Linked DNA regions of Homo sapiens: region 2 is linked to region 1. Evidence: promoter capture Hi-C in human tissues and cell types (Jung and others, 2019). All regions are on one chromosome and are shown on one strand. Each heading gives the region's core, a stretch centred on a gene start or on the middle of the fragment in contact. The rest is flanking DNA. Distances are from core to core; before and after follow the strand shown. Region 1 holds the start of GPD1 (glycerol-3-phosphate dehydrogenase 1). Region 2 overlaps SMAGP (small cell adhesion glycoprotein).

Region 1 (5,203 bases), core at 922-3,421:
AGGTCCTGCCCCATTCCAACCCAGCTCAAGTTTGCTGTGAGGAGGCCAGACAGCATGTGACCAACTGTCCTGCCACATACCCTCAACCAGTCTACTTCTCCAAGGCAACGGGTCCCCTCCACATCCCTAGGCAACCCCGCCTGACTGCCCCAACAAACTGCCATTCAGTGACCAGTCACTGCTCCAAACCAGCTACTCTTCACACTTCTCAAACCAGCCCGCTTCTCATATCTCCCAGGCATTCCTTTATACCTCCGAAACTCCCCGAGAGGACCTCCAAACCAATCTCGTCTCCTCCCTTCAGCCTCCCTTCCAGTGACCCCCAGCACCTCACTGCTTTCCTAAGCCTCTCCAGAGCCAACTGCCTCTCTTTTCTCCAGCAAACTCTTGGCCTGCGTCTGCCATTTTCTGTTCTCCTTGCTTCACCCACCCTGAACCCCACAACAGTGAGCCGCACCCTCCCCCATCCACATGAAGGTGTCCCTGGCACCTTAATAAGAGATATGCCAGTGGCGTTTGCCTTCAGATGGCCCTTGAGCTGGTCACAGATCTTGCCGATGAACTGATGGGGCACCACAAAGATCAGGATGTCAGCATCCTCTGCAGCCTGGACCACATCTGGGACAGCCACCTGTGGGGGTGACCAAGTGCTCGCGGGCCTGGCAGACCTCCCCTAGCCCCTGTGGAACCCTATTCAGGAGATCTGGGAGCCAAAGAGTGAGGCTGGTAGGGGAGCAGGAAGGCTTGTTTGGGACTGAATCTAGAAGGACTGAACTTGGAGGAATAAGACACTCTACTCCCTCCCCCCAGCTACCACTCTGTCTCCCTCCAGCTGTCCTGGGCTCTTGAGGACTCCTGGAAACCTCATCCCAGCACTCTCCTATCCCTTGGCTGTGGGACAGTGCGGGAGGCCAAAAGCAGCCTGGGCTTGGCAAAAGAAAGAGCTCAAATAAGATTTCATCACCCAGCTCCTCAGGAACCCCAGCTGGGAAGGGGGAGCCCCAGCCTTTCTGCTCTCTTCCCTGCTTCCCCTTTCCAGGTGGGGAGAGCCACGTGGATTTGACCAAAGACCGTAAGTCCAAGGAGCAGCCTCCAAGTCGGCTACTCACTCAGTGAATGAGTAACAGGATTAGTGCCGGAGGCAGGCACTACTGGACCCCAAGTCTGGGAGCCCAGTCTTTGGCTGCCATGGAGACCAACTTGTTCTCCCATCCCTTCCCCACCCACCCGCCTGGGAGCCTGTGAGGGGAAAGCATAGGTTCTCCTCAGTCCTCAGGAAAGGGCCCAGAGCAGCCCTCCTGAGACCTTCCCAAGTCCTGCTGCACCTGAAGCGGCCCTCTCAGCAGGAGGCACCTGTTGAGTAAGGTCGGCTCCAACTCCTGGCCCTCCCTTCCTCTCCCTGTTCTTCGCAGGGTGTTGGGGCTCACCACATTTGGGGGCAACTTGTGCCCTGGCAGGTATTTGACATTCTCATGCTGCGTGTTGATGATCTCAGTCAGCTTTTTGCCTCCAATGTCTTCCTCAAATACCCACATGGTCACCCGTGGGTCAAACTGTGCCAGCTGGGCTGCATTGCCACCCACGATCTTGGCGATGGCTGAGCCCCTGGTGGGAGGGGGAGCACAGGAAAGTACAGGAGGAGGGAACAGTGGCAGGAGTTGGGGCAGCGCCCCACCTCAGGATCTCACAGCAGCCCCCCAGGCTGTTCACTCCTACCTACCTTCCTTATCACCTCCACTCCCATGACAAATAGTCCCCAGTGACCTGGCAGTAGAAAGGAGACTCAGTCTCCTCACCCTTTGCTACTAGAGAAGGGAGCCCCACTTCTCATCTTCCCACCCCCAAACTCAAGCGGCTCTTCACATAGAGAGCTCTGGAGACGCCTTCCCATGGTGAACAGGTGCAGCTGCCCAGGAGGGCGGGGGTCAGGAGAGGGCCGGGCACCGTCTGTCCTGTGCTGCTATGATAGAAGATAGCAGCAGGGGCTGAACAGGAACCTGAGGGCCTTTCCCACCCATTCTGCCTCCTACCCACCTCTGTCTTGGGGGGCCTACCCTTCCCCCATATCACTTGACAGAGCTGCTTACCAGTTCCCGGAGCCTACAATGCAGACTTTCTTGCTAGCCATGGTGCCGCGTCTCTGCCTGAGCCGGCTCAGTGCCACACTCCCTAGCTCCTCTGCCGGCTAGGAGCATTTAACTCCACCACACGTGGGTGCAGCCAAGCCCCGCCCTCCAGGGGTGGGTGGGGAGGCTGGCGCCCAGGGAGATAGAGAGTCTGGCAGAGCCAGGGAAAGGAGAGACAGGGGTACAGACAGGTGTGGAACAGGAATGGGGCAGAGACTAGGCCCAGCTTTTTCTCCTGGGCTCATCGGCTGACAGTGCTGGCAAGCTTCTTCCCTTGGCCCCAGCCCAGCTTCCCACCATGGTCTCATTTTGAGGTCTGCTAAGAAAATAGCCCAGATAAGGAGCAGGTGACTGCTCTCCCTTGCTCCTTTCTGTCCCCCAGCATGAAATAAATTGTATTTAGCTTCAGTAGCAGCTAGGGGAATGCTTTTCAGAGGTAGGCTCCTCCATGACCCCCTATCCCCCCGCCAACCCTGCCACATATCCTCACAGGACCCTGTTCCACAGTTCTGTCCTCCAGCAGGCCCACGCTAGCTCCACTGCAGGGCTGGGGTGGGGGATGTGGGCCCACTTCCCACCTCTAAAGATGAGGCCACATAAGAGGTAAGGGCCTGCTTTGAGGACAGCCCAGCTCAAAAAAGGATGAGAGACTCCAGGTGCCTCAAAAGACAAGATTGTCTTGGTCACCCACAGAGGTCATCTTGGGGACTCATCCATGGGCCTCTCAGATGATCCCCACCCAAAAATGTGTTCTAGGGAAGGTGGGAAAGGTTAAAGTTAGAGAGCTCTGAGAATTGCGGTACACAATTTTGTTGTAGACTCTGGGCTTAAGAGGACAGGAGAGAATAGGAGGCAGGCAGAGTGCACACTGTCCTTGAAAGGCTTTGAGCCTCCTTCAACTCCTCCTCTCAGGGGTTTCCAAGGTACTGCCCCAGGGGCTTCATCAGGTGAATGGCTAGTTTGCAGAGGCCAGAAAAGGGGAAGGCAGGCAGTACCCGGGGCAGCTGTGTCCGTGGGGCTTTGTGGTCTCAGATGCTGTGATTGGGGGTAAGTTTGGTGTATGTTTTTTGGGGAAGGGCGAGAATGGAAGGAGCACCCTCAGCAGTTCAGGGCTCTGCATCGCCCACGGCCATCTGTTTGTCTAAGACGAGGGAAGCTCTGGTTTCCAGGCTGATCTGGAGAGTGGAGCAAGAGGCTCCTAACACTGTGCACCTTGGCCTAGAGGGCAGACACCACTGTGTGCTCATGTGCTGACCTCCTGGCTTGGCAGACGGCTAGGTGGGTGTTGCCATCCCCCTGGGCTGTTGCTGGCCAGCAACTGGTAACAAGCACTGGGCTACAGGGGAGTCTGTGTGCAACCCATGGGTAGGAGTAAGCAGGCAGGAGGTCAAGACTGGGGAGAAATGGCTTTCTAAGTTCCGGGGACTGCCCAGGAAAAACCAACCATATTCTCCTTCCATGGCCAGTAATTTCCCATAGGGAAACGGACATGAAATCAGTAGTTGGCTGTTTTTCTTAGCACAATGTTATACCTAATACAGAAACAGCCTCCCACAGACCACTCCTTTATTGCACTGGCACTGAGATGAAGGCTCCAGTGCCAGGCTGCCAGCTGGGAGCACTGATTACGGGTGATGGAAGAGAAAGGATGCTTCTGTCCCTGGCACAAATGATGGGAGCCCCAAAGAATGGATGTTTATGCATAAAATAACCCCCTTGTTTTTGCCTAAATGCTTCCCTCTCTCATTTTGCCCCTACAATCATTTTAGATAGTGTGGAGACTAAGAATGTGCTCATTTACATGGGAATAAAGAGGGTGCAGAGATTCAGAATCGGCTCATCACAGGAAGTTATCTGTATCACTAGAGCTCTTTTCCCAAGAGCAAACTGTAGATTTGCTTGAAATTAATAATGGTTCATCAGCCATTCATTACACATGTAATTAGCCTGGGTAAAAACAGATGCCATTTCAATGTCCTTGACATCAATTTTCTCCACTCCTAGTTATCGGCCCAACCACTCCTCTCTGCTTTCCCTTCTCAAGTCTGATAAACCCCAAGTTCCGGAGTAGGAACAGTGGTTGGATTTTTTGGTGGGTTTGATTACATATATTGAACAGGCAATACTAGAATGTTCCCATCCAAACAGGCAAAGGATAATTTTTAAACTACAACTTTGGAAAGTGGTTGTACTCTGATCCTATATTCCAAACCCCATTCTTGCATAATGACAAAGGAAAAAAGTCATGAGCCTCCAAGTGGGAAGCAGGCAGAACTGCAGGCGAGTTTCAAGTGATTGCTAATGGGAATCCCTCCTGAGCTGTCTTCCAAACTCTGCCAAGGAGGGGCTAGTTGTCTACAGTATGAGGATGACAACACAGAACTTCCATGGTGCTCTTAAGAACCAGCTACTCAGGAGGCTGAGGCAGGAAAATCACTTGAACCTGGGAGGCGGAGGTTGCAGTAAGCCGAGAACGCGCCATTGCACTCCAGCCTGGGGAACAAGAACACAACTCCATCTCAAAACAGGCAAACAAAAACTGAACTCTTATTTGAACCATGAAAGCGGAACCTTAGAGTAGCAGGCACAGGCTGGGCACGGTGGTTCACACCTGTAATCCCAGCACTTTGGGAGACCGAGGCGGGCGGATCACGAGGTCAGGAGATCGAGACCATCCTGGCTAACACGGTGAAACCCTGTCTCTACTAAAAAATACAAAAAATTAGCCGGGCATGGTGGCAGGCGCCTGTAGTCCCAGCTACTCGGGAGGCTGAGGCAGGAGAATGGCGTGAACCCAGGAGGCAGAGCTTGCAGTGAGCCAAGATCGCGCTACTGCACTCCAGCCTGGGCAACAGTGAGACTCCGTCTAAAAAAAAAAAAAAAAAAAGAGTAGCAGGCACAAAAAGCAAAAATGTCTTTGGTCGTCCAGATCCTGCCCACATCTAAACAGAAGCCCTGGGGAAGAAGTGAAACTCCTCCAAAGGCGGCTCAGGTTCGTCAAACCTAAGGGATCACGGGCATCTATGGCTCACTCCAGCCAACAAGTGCTCTGGGGAGCTCAGATGGACAAGGGGGAA
Region 2 (5,203 bases), core at 2,430-4,929, 1.1 Mb before region 1:
CCCTGACAACCTTCTCTAAAACCACAACTCCAACCACATCCCAGCTTTCCATCCTCTTTTCTGCTTATTTTTCTACATAGCGCTAATTAACGTCTAATATAGCATATCTTTTACTTATTTAATTATTTATTTTTACTTTTTTTTTTAGATGGAGTCTCTCTCTGTCACCCAGGTTGGAGTGCAGTGGTGCAATCTCGGCTCACTGCAGCCTCCGCCTCCTGGGTTCAAGTGATTCTCCTGCCTCAGCCTCCTGAGTAGCTGGGACTACAGGCATACGCCACCACACCCAGCTAATTTTTGTATTTTTAGTAGAGACGGGGTTTTGCCATGTTGGTCAGGCTGGTGCCAAACTCCTGACCTCATGATCCACCCGCCTCGGCCTCCCAAAGTGCTGGGATTACAGGCATGAGCCACCGCGCCCGGCCTTATTTTATTTATTGTCTGTCTTCCCCCTCTAAAAATGTAAATTATATAAACAGAGGGTTTTTTAATTGTGGTAAAATTATACATAACATAAAATTGACCATTTTAACCATTTTCAAGTGTACAGTCCAGCAGTATTAAGTACATTCATGTTGTTATACCTTCACCAACACCACTATGCATCTCCAGAACTTTTTCATCCTCCCAAACTAAAACTCTATACTCATTAAACATTAACTCCCCATTTTCCCCTTCTCCAGCCCCTTACAATCTCCTGTAGTACTTTCTGTCTTATGAATTTGATTGCTCTAAGCACATCATATAAGTGGAATCATACAATGTTTGTCCTCTTTTTTTTTGTTTGAGACAGAGTCTCGCTCTTTCGCCTGGGCTGGAGTGCAGTGGCATGATCTTGGCTCACTGCAACCTCTACCTCCCGGGTTCAAGTGATTCTCCTGCCTTGGCCTCCCAAGTAGCTGGGATTACAGGCACCTGCCACCACGTCCGGCTAATTTTTGTATTTTTAGTAGAGACGGGGTTTTACCACGTTGGCCAGGCTGGAATGTTTGTCCTTTTGTGCCTGGCTTATTTCACTTAGTGTCATGTCCTCAAGGTTCATCCATGTTGTAGTATATGTCTGAATTCCTTCCTTTTTTGTTTTTTGTTTTTTTTTAGAATTTCCTTCCTCTTTAAGGGTATGTATATACCACATTTTGTTTATCCATTTATCTACTGTTGGACATTTGGGTTATTTCACCTTTTATTTAGCTATTGCATAATGCTCCTATGAACATGATATACAAGTATCAGTTGAAGTCCATTCATTTCTTTTGGGTATATACCTAGAAGTGGGATTGCGGGATCATACCCACCCAGCAATGAGATTGCTGGGTAATTCTGTTTAATCCTGGCAGGAACTTTAAAGGTAAGGGTTTTTGCCTGTGTTGTTCACTGATAGAAGCCCAGAGCCTGGCACAGAGTACACACTCAGTAAATTCTTGTTGAACTAACTGTTTAATTTCCCTGTCTAGGAACCTGGAATCTCAGTCTAAGAAGGCTGTGCAGCTTATCTGACCCAGCTTGCTCTCAGTAGTCCCATTCTGACTTCTAATGCTTGCTGTTTCGAGTTCAAAGCCCCCCAAACAGGCCGTAATAGTGTGTTCTAGAACTTTGCTGGGGAGTCACATCAAGCTCACCATTGCTTTATGGACTCCACCTTCCTTCCATGGCCCCTTCAGGTTCCCGACCCCTTTCTCTTTCTCAGAAGCTCCTATGTCACCAACAGAAATCCCATTTACAAGTTCTTGCAGTGCCTTTGGCTGTCATATCTGGTCCCTTTTAGATTAGTCTGGTGCTTGCTGGGTTTCTTTGCTTCTCTTGAGCTCACTTCCCCCATGTCCCCAAAGGCTCCACTGCTCCTTAGTGCAAAAAAATGATTCTCTTTGATAGGAAACAGAGGTGAAAAGGCCTGAGGGAATTCTGCTTTCTCTGTTACCTCCAACCTGACCCCTCAGGCCCAAAGAAGCCTAGCTTTTTCTTTGTTCTTGTTGCAAATATAATGCTTTTTAAATTGTCCTTCGGGGGGCGATGTGGCTCACGCCTGTAATCCCAACACTTTGGGAGGCTGAGGAGGGCGGATCACCTGAGGTCAGGAGTCTGAGACCAGCCTGGCCAACATGGCAAAACTGTCTCTACTAAAAAATACAAAAATTAGCCGGGTGTGGTGGCACATGCCTGTAATTCCAGCTACTTGGGAGGCTGAGGCAGGAGAATTGCTTGAACCCAGGGGGCGGAGGTTGCAGTGAGCCGAGATGAAGCCACTGCACTCCAGCCTGGGTGACACAGTGAGACTTGGCCTCAAAAATAATAATAATAGGCCGGGCACAGTGGCTCATACCTGTAATCCCAGCACTTTGGGAGGCCGAGGCGGGCAGATCACGAGGTCAGGAGATCAAGACCATCCTGGCTAATATGGTGAAACCCCGTCTCTACTAAAAAATACAAAAAATTAGCCGGGCGTGGTGACATGCGCCTGTAGTCCCAGCTACTCGGGAGGCTGAGGCAGGAGAATCGCTAGAACCTGGGAGACAGAGGTTGCAGTGAGCCAACATCGCGCCACTGCACTCCAGCCTGGGTGACAGAGCGAGACTCTGTCTGGAAAAAAAAAAAAAAATCTGATGTAGAGTCTGCCTTCTTGTCATCGTTTAAATATTGAGGTAAATTTCTTTGCACCTTTCTTCATCTGCACTTTCTGCTTCACCAGATGGCTTCATATAAGTGGAAACTGACCAATAGCTGCATCGCAGCAAGGCATTCTGTAGAATTTTTTTCTTAAGGTCTTCCTGTATGGCTAAAATATTCTCTAGTTGTGAGAAAGCTTGCTTCTGATCATGTTAAACATTAAAGCTAAAGAGGGTGGGGAGTCCTCTGAACCTCTTTTGGTTCTAGGGGCTGCTCAATTTAAAAAAATTAAAGAATAGATAACTGAAAATAAACTAAAAATAAAGAAGTCACATATAAACCAACATGACTTCTGCATTACACTGACATCGTTCCCTTAAGTTACCTATCACCAGTGAGCCAGTTCATGTTAAAGAAGCACTTTGTAGCACAACTGTCTGTATTTAATTGTGATCATCTGGTTTCCTCCCACCTTTATTCTTTTTTTTTTTTTTTCTGAAACAGGGTCTCACTCTGTCACCCAGACTAGAGTACAGTGGCACAATCACAGCTCACTGCAGCCTGGACCTCCTGGGCTCCAGTGATCCTCTCACCTCAAGTTTACCGAGTAGCTGGGACTACAGGTGTGTGCCACCATGTCTGGCTAACTTTTTTTTTTTTTTTTTTTTTGTAGAGATGGGAGTCTGGCTATGTTGCCCAGGCTGGTCTCCAACTCCTGGGCTCAAGCGATCCACCTGCCTTGGCCTCCCAAGGTGCTGGAATTACAGGCGTGAGCCACTGCACCCAGCCTCCTCCATATATTATTTTTAAAAAACAAATAGAGATGGTGTCTTGCTATATTGTCCAGATTAGTCTCAAACTCCTGGCCTCAAGCAATCCTCCTGCCTCCGCCTCCCAAAGTGTTGGGATTACAGGCGTGAGCTACCACACTAAACCTAATGTACAAAGTAAGTTACTGTTGATGATTGAACACAAATTACTCATCTTCAAGCTTCTGATATACATTAATCTTCTCAATGCTTTGTACATCCTAAATTCTCAAAATGTTTAAAGAAAGCAAAACTAGGAACAACTGTATAGAACTCTAGATCCATGGTAGGAAGATGGATTGCAGCCCTGGGCGATTTGGGGAGGAAAGTGCATGGTGAAATGTGTGAAGTCATGACCAGGTAGATAAACTTCAGGGCTTCCCTTTGATGGGAGTCACAGTGTTGTATAACCTAATCTCAGAAGTTACATGCCATCATTTTTGCCATCATCTGTTAAAAGCAAGTCACCAGGTTCAACCCATATACCAGAGGAGAGGCATGCTCAAAGATGTCAATACCAGGAGGCAGAAATCATTGTGAGCCATCTTAGAAGCTGTACACCACACTCCCATTTCACAAATCAAGAAACTGAGGTACTGCCAGGTGTGGTGGCACACGCTTATAATCCCAGCATTTTGGGAGGCCAAGGCAGGAAGATTGCTTGAGGTCAGGAGGTTGAGGCCGCAGTGAGCCAAGATTGCACCATTGCACTCCAGCCTGAGCAACATAGTGAGATCCTTGTCTCAACAACAACAACAAAAAAAAAACAAAAAAAAAACACAACAACAACAACAACCAGGTTCAGAGAGGTTTAGTAACTTCCTCAAGGTCACCTAGTAATATGCTTAGGCAGGATTCAAACCCAGAGCAACTCTCCCTTTAATTAATTTATTTTTTTGAGACAGGGTCTCATTACTCTGTTGCCCAACAATTCAGTAATGCAGTGCTGGCTCATTGCAGGCTTAACCCCCTGGGCTCAAGCAATCTTCCCACTTCAGCCTCATGAGTATCTGGGACTACAGGCGCATATTACCACACCTGGCTAATTTTTACATTTTTTTTTTTTTTTTTTTTGTAGACAGAGTCTTACTGTGTTGCCCAGGCTGGTCTCAAACTCCTGGCCTCAAGCGATCTTCCCACCTTGGTCTCCCAAAGTGCTGGGATTACAGGCATGAGCCACCATGCCTGGCCCTTTTAATCACTAAGCATATTAACAAAGTCACCTTAAATAATATTTAAGTAGTAGCTACTATATGATGTTTACATGTTCTCTCATTTAATCTTCATAATAGAACTGCAATGTTGGTTAATATAGTTCCTGTGGGTAACAGATGAGAATGGATGAATGAATCCATATGTATAGGCGAGGCACAGTGGCTCACACCTGTAATCCCAGCACTTTGGGAGGCCGAGGCAGGTGGATCACTCGAGGCCAGGAGTTCGAGACCAGCCTGGCCAACATGGTGAAACCCTGTCTCTACTGAAAATACAAAAATTAACTGGGCATGGTGGCACACACCTGTAATCCCAGCTACTCAGGAGGCTGAGGCAGAAGAATCGCTTGAGCCAGGAGGTGGAAGTTGCAGTGAGCCGAGATTGCGCCACTGCACTCCAGCCTGGGCAATGGAGCAAGACTCCATCTTAAAAAAAAAAAATGTATAACTGTTCTAGACAAACTCTAAAACCATTTTTCCTCAGCTCTCACAACAGTTGACACAGAAGACTTCTGTGACCCCAAAATATTTGAGAATTTCTCTGCACCAGCAAGCAAGCAAGCAGTTCCACAGCAG

The links. Contacts are between HindIII fragments. The study calls those that stand out against the background at their distance.
Region 2: a fragment that was not itself captured here is called in contact with the fragment with the promoter of GPD1 in region 1 in 1 of the 25 tissues and cell types used here (spleen).

What each region holds. Positions count from the first base shown.
Region 1 is chr12:50,100,976-50,106,178 of GRCh38, reverse strand. It overlaps GPD1 (glycerol-3-phosphate dehydrogenase 1), which reads right to left and starts at 2,171. Exons shown (of 8, transcript NM_005276.4): 1 at 2,088-2,171; 2 at 1,428-1,605; 3 at 491-631. The coding sequence starts at 2,128. RefSeq lists an enhancer at 3,112-3,161. The HindIII fragment of the contact is 8,009 bases long and covers 1-4,243 here.
Region 2 is chr12:51,249,489-51,254,691 of GRCh38, reverse strand. All of the region lies in intron 2 of SMAGP (small cell adhesion glycoprotein), which reads left to right. Among named protein-coding and RNA genes, the nearest start is that of DAZAP2, 13 kb to the right of the region's middle. The HindIII fragment of the contact is 4,561 bases long and covers 1,399-5,203 here.